Linked DNA regions of Homo sapiens: region 1 is linked to region 2. Evidence: promoter capture Hi-C in human tissues and cell types (Jung and others, 2019). All regions are on one chromosome and are shown on one strand. The core of a region is centred on a gene start or on the middle of the fragment in contact, and the rest is flanking DNA. Distances in the headings are between cores, read along the strand shown.

What was found. Contacts are between HindIII fragments. The study calls those that stand out against the background at their distance.
Region 1: a fragment that was not itself captured here is called in contact with the fragment with the promoter of CDH8 in region 2 in 1 of the 25 tissues and cell types used here (lymphoblastoid cells).

The regions. Positions count from the first base shown.
Region 1 is chr16:61,290,179-61,293,395 of GRCh38, forward strand. No RefSeq gene overlaps it. Among named protein-coding and RNA genes, the nearest start is that of CDH8-AS1, 630 kb to the right of the region's middle. The HindIII fragment of the contact is 7,798 bases long and covers 1-3,217 here.
Region 2 is chr16:62,034,868-62,038,143 of GRCh38, forward strand. It overlaps CDH8 (cadherin 8), which reads right to left and starts at 1,571. Exons shown (of 12, transcript NM_001796.5): 1 at 1,213-1,571. It overlaps LOC124903777 (a long non-coding RNA gene), which reads left to right and starts at 1,723. Exons shown (of 2, transcript XR_007065217.1): 1 at 1,723-1,910; 2 at 2,346-2,566. The HindIII fragment of the contact is 11,196 bases long and covers 1-3,276 here.

The DNA.
Region 1 (3,217 bases), core at 518-3,017, 740 kb before region 2:
AAACCTACCACGACTTTTTTTCTGTGTCCAGTGTTTTGTTATATAATGTAATTTTTCTGATAGTTACTTTTTAAATACATGAAAAGAGAAAAATAACATGTTAAATCATGTTAGAAAATACGAATGTAGTACTATATCTTAGATAATGTGCTAACACTTTATATACTTTATGTGTTCAGTCAAAGGATACTACTAATAATATGGTTTTAGTCATTTAATTATCATTACTAAGCACCTTCAAAGTTCTAGACATTATATTGGATATTAAGAATATAAAGATAAGTAAAGCACAAACCCTCAAGAAAATTAAAGTACAGTGAAGACAGGATACATTCTCTATGCATATCACTTATATAAGTTGTCAAAGTGATTTTTTTGAATTACACCTGGAACCATAACAGCCAAATTTTATAGTGGAGGACCCTGGAATCAAGAGGAGAAATACCAATAGAAGCGAAACAGAGATTTAATGTTCTTCCTGTTCCCTGCTGAGACTTACGGTGGCCTACATAACAGTGTTGACTCTGTCCAACATCTAAAGAAATCCCTTGATGAAGGAGCTGCCAGCCTTCAGAGGAGCCTGATAAATATTCTTTTCTTTCTGAAGACTTGCAGTTGATTTTCACTCTAGCGTTCTAAGAAATTCTATAGACTTTTTGCAGTTTAGCATCCAATATATATGTGTCACCATTTAATATAAGCAAGAATACACTTGAAGATATACTTTTTCAATCTACATGTTTTCTTGAAAAGAATACTTAAGTGTATCAAAGTTCTTTTCCATTTTTTTGTTATTATTTTGGTTTGCAGAAAAAATGAGAAAAAAATGATGCGAAAGCCACAGAACTCAAAGTAAGAGATTTTCATGTTCATCCACTTAAGTTTGGGACTATAAACCACAATAATTCTAAATTCCAAAAAAGTTTTGTGCTCAACACAGTGTCTAGAAAATTCAAGACTTAAAAATTTCCTAATTTCAATTAAATAAATGCATTAAATAATACCCCTTTACTGAGCATAAAATAGTTATGTAAATTTACCAGTAAAAATGTTAAATAAGGTACTTATTCTACTAATCTTATAAAGATGCTTGAAATTAAAAGTAACTTTTATTTCTTGGCCTCTCATTGAAGGTCTATCCATTAAACATTTATTAGCTATGTCAGATATTGCATAGGGGCCACATTGAAGCTATGAAGGACACGTATTTTTTCAACCCAGATTTCCAGAACTGTTTTATTGACTTTTGCATTTAAGCTCCAGCCTCAAAATTTTCTGAAGGACAGAGGCATAATGTGTTATCTATTGCCTGGGAATAATGAAAAATGAAATGTATAATAGGAATATATACTTTACACTTAACATATGGAATGACAAAGTATCCATCTCAAGTATGACTAAATATTAATAAATCGCAATCTGAATAGAAAACCAAAGAAGCAAACAATTCTATTATGCAAATAGCAGTAATTTATTGTGCAGTTAGAAAATAACAATCTCTAAAAATAAATGTTTGTAACAAACTATCTCATGCATATAAGTAGATCAACAATTTATTCCATATTCCTGTGAAGCTTGCCAACAGATCTAAGACACAGTTAAGAAGTTAAGATGTTTAAAGCCTTTCTTTATCTGTTTTATATTGTTTCCTCTAAGGTCATATTATTATTGAAATAGTGTGCGTGTGTGTGTGTGTATGTGTGTGTCTGTGTGTGTGTGTGGGTATGAGATTCCTGTAATATACATTTTTCTCATTCAAAAGCCTGATTCTGAAAACTGAATTTCCCAAAACATTCTGATAGGGAAACAAATCAGTTTCCTAGAGTTAAATGGAACAGTAGAATCATGTATTTCAGATTCAGAATTTTCTTCCACAGTGAGATTAATTTTCCAGCCTCTCTCACTCATTCATTGCATATTTATTGGGCATTTTTTATTTGCCAGTGCTTACACTGGGCAACATAAATATAATATTGAGTGAAAACAGATATGATCTCATGAAGGTACAGTCTGGTGGAGAAATACTTTACTGGAATTATTATATATGTAGAATTTAATTATCAATTGTGGCAAGGGCTTTGAGAGAGGGGAATATGATAGGTGGTATTGCCTTAATTAGGAAAGTAATAGCTTATGTGAGGAAGGGATGATTTGAGTCTGAGAAGATCCAATAGACAGTATTGCACTGTCCCCCCACCCCCACCTCCATCTCAAATGAATAAAATGAAGATTTTCAAGAAGAGTTGCATAAGTGTCTATCTGAAAGAGGGTCTGGGTTTATGAATTAACTGTGATAATGGCATTCTGTGAACAAGATGTAAGTGACCACTTCTATGCCCCAAAATCTTGTAACACAATACCTGAAAAGAATATTAAGGGCTGACTTGAAAACACTTTTGAGAGGATAAGATGGAAGCTAAATAATTATTCTCAGCCTTCACTGCAGATAAAATAAAAGAAAATTAGTCAAAATTACATCATTTTTATTTAAGGAATATAGCACCATGCATTAACAAGGCATATATATGCAATGCCTAGAAGTCATTCAGAATATATGTCGAGAATAAAAAGAATTTTATCTCCCCAGAACTATTCTTAACTTTCCTTCTGCTTCCATTTTTCTTTAATGGCCCAAGAGCCTCAGGATCACTGGAGCTCAAAAACAGACTCACCGTCTATAACATTACTATGTTTAATCAGTAGCCAAGTCCTACCTATTCTACCTTAATGATATCATTCTTATTCCACCATCACTGCTGTAATTCGGGCCTGCAATACATTTCAGCTGTGGTATTCTAATAGACTCGTCAGTGGTCACTGTAGCTCAGACTGTCATTCTCGTCATTCATTTTGCACATTGGAACTAGTGTACTCTCCTTAAAATACATCTCTAGTCACAAGACATCCTTTCACAGACTTCACTTAATAAGCAATAGGGAATTGTTGAAAGTTTTAAAACCCATTAGCCTATAATTCATGCTTATTCTCAAGAACTATTTACAACTTATATTGTTTTATCTCAATAAAAACATATCCCCATAATACATTTACTGAACAGATATTTATTGGGCATCTACTGTATGCTAGAAATTAGAGATACAAAAATAGAAAAAAAAAGTTCTCTTTCTATAGCTTGCAAATTAGCAACCTATACATTTGAATACAAACATTTTCATAGCAAATACAGCTATAAAAAGCTAAATGTCATGGAGTTGTA
Region 2 (3,276 bases), core at 321-2,820:
TAAACAATTAATGTGGTTTGATTTCTTACATTTAGCAACCCAAGCAAACAGCTGCCATCTCCGCTGGTGGAGGCAAACGGCTAGTCCTTGACATGCCGCCGGCTCCGTGCCTGCGGGGGAAGGGTCAACCGCAAGGAAACTTTGAGGATTCTGCCAGACTGGGTGGGGGAAGGCTCTGGTGTTTGGGAGGAATAAGCGGAGGAAATTGTGGATACCTGTTGGCATCAGCGTTGGCGGCAGCACGTTTTTTTACCGTTTCCCAGCCTTGGCTGGATCCTGGGAGAACCGGAGTAGGTCCCTTATGAACCTCTTACGTACTGGCAGAACCTAGGCAAGAGCCTTTTTCCCTCCGATCCTGCGAGGGGCGCGACCAGCCCCTCAAAGGTTCCCGGATGAGAAGCGGCCAGACCACAGAAAGCGCAGGTCTGGGCTCAGCTGTCCCTAGGAGAGCGGCTACGGAGTCCCCGGCTTAAGGGGGCCTCCGTGCACGCAATCTCGAGTTGCGGGGAGACACTGCCTGGGGGTCCTGCAGGGGTGCTGGGCAGCGTCTTGGCGAGGGCAGAGCCGCAGGGCGACTCCGGAGCCCGGCAAGTTTGTAGCGGGCACCGCACCTCCCAGAGCTGGAGCTGCCACTTGTGGGAAAGCCTCGCGCTGGGGCTTTCGCAGCTGAGCCTTGGCCCGCAGCCCTGCCGCGGGGGTCGCCCTCCCTCGCCTCGGAGATGAGGCGGTGCAGAAAACCAGCCATAGACCACTCGGGCCCCCTCGCCTCCTTTTTTCCCTGGCTTGCACCCTCCGCACAGCGGGCTGCAGGTGCTTCCCATTCACCGCACGGACCCCGCAGTGAAGGCGCGCGGCTGCAGCCGCGCCTGCCTGCGTTGGGAAGCGGCGAAATAGCCAAGTCGCCGCAGGGAAGGAAACCGGCAGGAAAACTGGAGGGGCACAGCCTGGAGCTTGCTACTCTCTAGGATCTGTTGTCAAAGCAGTTTGCAAAAACAGTCAGGCAAAACCTTGAGGCGTACGTACGTTATCACCCACGGATATCGCGAAAGACACAGCTTAGCCCAGAGCCTATGCTAAGAACCCTCATCCACCATCTGAGGGGCAGGAGGCGCGCAAGGTGTCCGAAGGGGCATGGGAATTCCTATAAGAAACGGTCCCTTCTGGATAGTCGGAACATAGAGGAAAACGGGGGTGGGTTAGGGGAACACTTACTCTTGTGGGGCCCTGCGCTGGCGAATGTCAAGCCTCCAGGTTCACAAATGGCTGGAGGTGCTCGGGGTTAGCTCCCGAGGGCGGCAAGCGCCGACCGGTCCTCGCTCGCTAGGCAGGCGCCTCCGGATTCCGTTCATGCCTCTCGGAGCTACAGGGCTTGGTGCGGAGACGCAGGGCGGGCGCGCTGGGCTCTGGGTGTCCGCAACCCAAAGTGCAGCTGGTGTCTTGACGCTACCGTCTATGCACAAGCCGGCGGCGGCGGCGGAGCTTGGAGGAGGCAGGGAGATTCCAAATAAATCCACTAATTCTGGGCTGAGCGCTCCGGCGTGCGAGCCCGCCTGCCTGCCAAATGTAACTGTGAAGTGATGTGGAAAAGTGAGCCGGGTGCCTCCCCTGACGGATCTCATTGGGCAGAGCGCAGAGGCAGGTCTACCACTTGGAAATTCATGTAAGCAGTCCCCCCTCCCCGCCCCCTCCCCGCCTTCCCCCTTCGCTCTCCCGCGCTGGCTCGATCGCTCTCTTTCCCCCTACCCAAGTGGGCGCACAACTTTTCGCTCCTCGCTCCCGAGCAAGCCCCGCGCGTCTCTGCCGCCAGAGCCACGAGGTGAAGATGCGCCCTTCCGCGCGGTGCGCGCAGCCCGCTGAGGACCGAGCTCCTGGATAAGTGGGCTGGCAGATAATAACAGCATGCGGATGAGGTACCTGCGAGCTTTCTCTCTAGAGGTCTCACCTGAGCTCTGGGGCTGGCGTTATGTTGAAAAGCGTCTCAGTGACCCGCAGCTATTTTCCGTAGGAGGAAGAGGACGCGACAGGGCAAAGGGTTGAGCGTGGGCAGCTTACCTCCTCTTTATTCCAAGGGCCTCTTGCGTACAGAATAGGGTGATTGTGAGACCCCTGCCTGCAACTCAGACGCTATGTAGAGGCTGTGTGTCGCGGTTCTGTGATGGAGCGCATTCCTGATGTCCCCGTGCTCCTTTGGGAAAATGGGATGAGGGACAGCAGAGTGGCAGCCAGGAGGGGCGCGCAGTAGTTGGTTGTGGGGAGGAGGGCAGGCAAAGCAGAACTTGCTTGGGAAATAGGGGAGGAATTTCTAGGTCTTCTCAATGTGCCCTGATCTTGTCATATCCTCTCAGATACCATCCTTGCGGTTCTCCTGCCTCCACCAAGACCTGCCCTGTCTGTGGTCACTTCAAGTCTTCTGATGGGCTGCGCTCAGATCTTGAGAAATGGCCACCCTGGGGTAAAAGGGACCATGAATCAGGAGGTCCAGATTTCTTTTCTTTTTCAACACTGGGGCTAACATGTAGACGATGCCACAGTCATCATCTTCTAATAAAATTAGATAAATATAAGACAAATAAATTCTTACCTTAAAAAAAAAAACCCTCCCCTCCACAGGAGATCCCGATTTAGTCCCTTCCCTGTGTGCACTAGACGTGAGCCTGAGGGTGGATTTTACCATCTGGGGACAGAGCAAGAACAGAAGGGGGAAAAAGGTGCAGGGGACAAGACGCACAGTCTGTAGAGCTTGTACTGTCTCACTCAAATTAATGAGAAAGAGTGAACAGAATGAGAAAATAGGCACAACATGCTTATGATATTTATGCAAATTTGACATTTTTTTGTGTGCTGCATCTGACAACCCATTGTGAAATGTGAAAAAGAGTATTGGCTGTAGCTCTAATATCTGATTGTTTCATGTTCTAGCTGTCATAGGCAAGAAACTTAGTGGATTATTTCAGAGAGGGAGAGGTGAAGAGAACCAAGTGGTATTTTTTTTCCCCCAGGCAGTCACTAAGTAACTGTTTGTTCTCTTCTCAGACTGTGTCTGCTTACAGGGTATTGGAATTGGCTAATTCTGTCTTGGAAAAAGGAGCAGCAGTCAAGGCTCAATCAAATTATAACTGCTGCTAGACCAGACAGTCCCAAGTGGACAAAGAAATAGATCACATTTTGGGTTGTGCTTAATTTCAGATATTCATTTTCACTTGAACAAATAATTTGAACCGTTCCTTGGGGTAACTTCTTACATCTATGAAAACTCAAAAAAACTCATGTGCTACT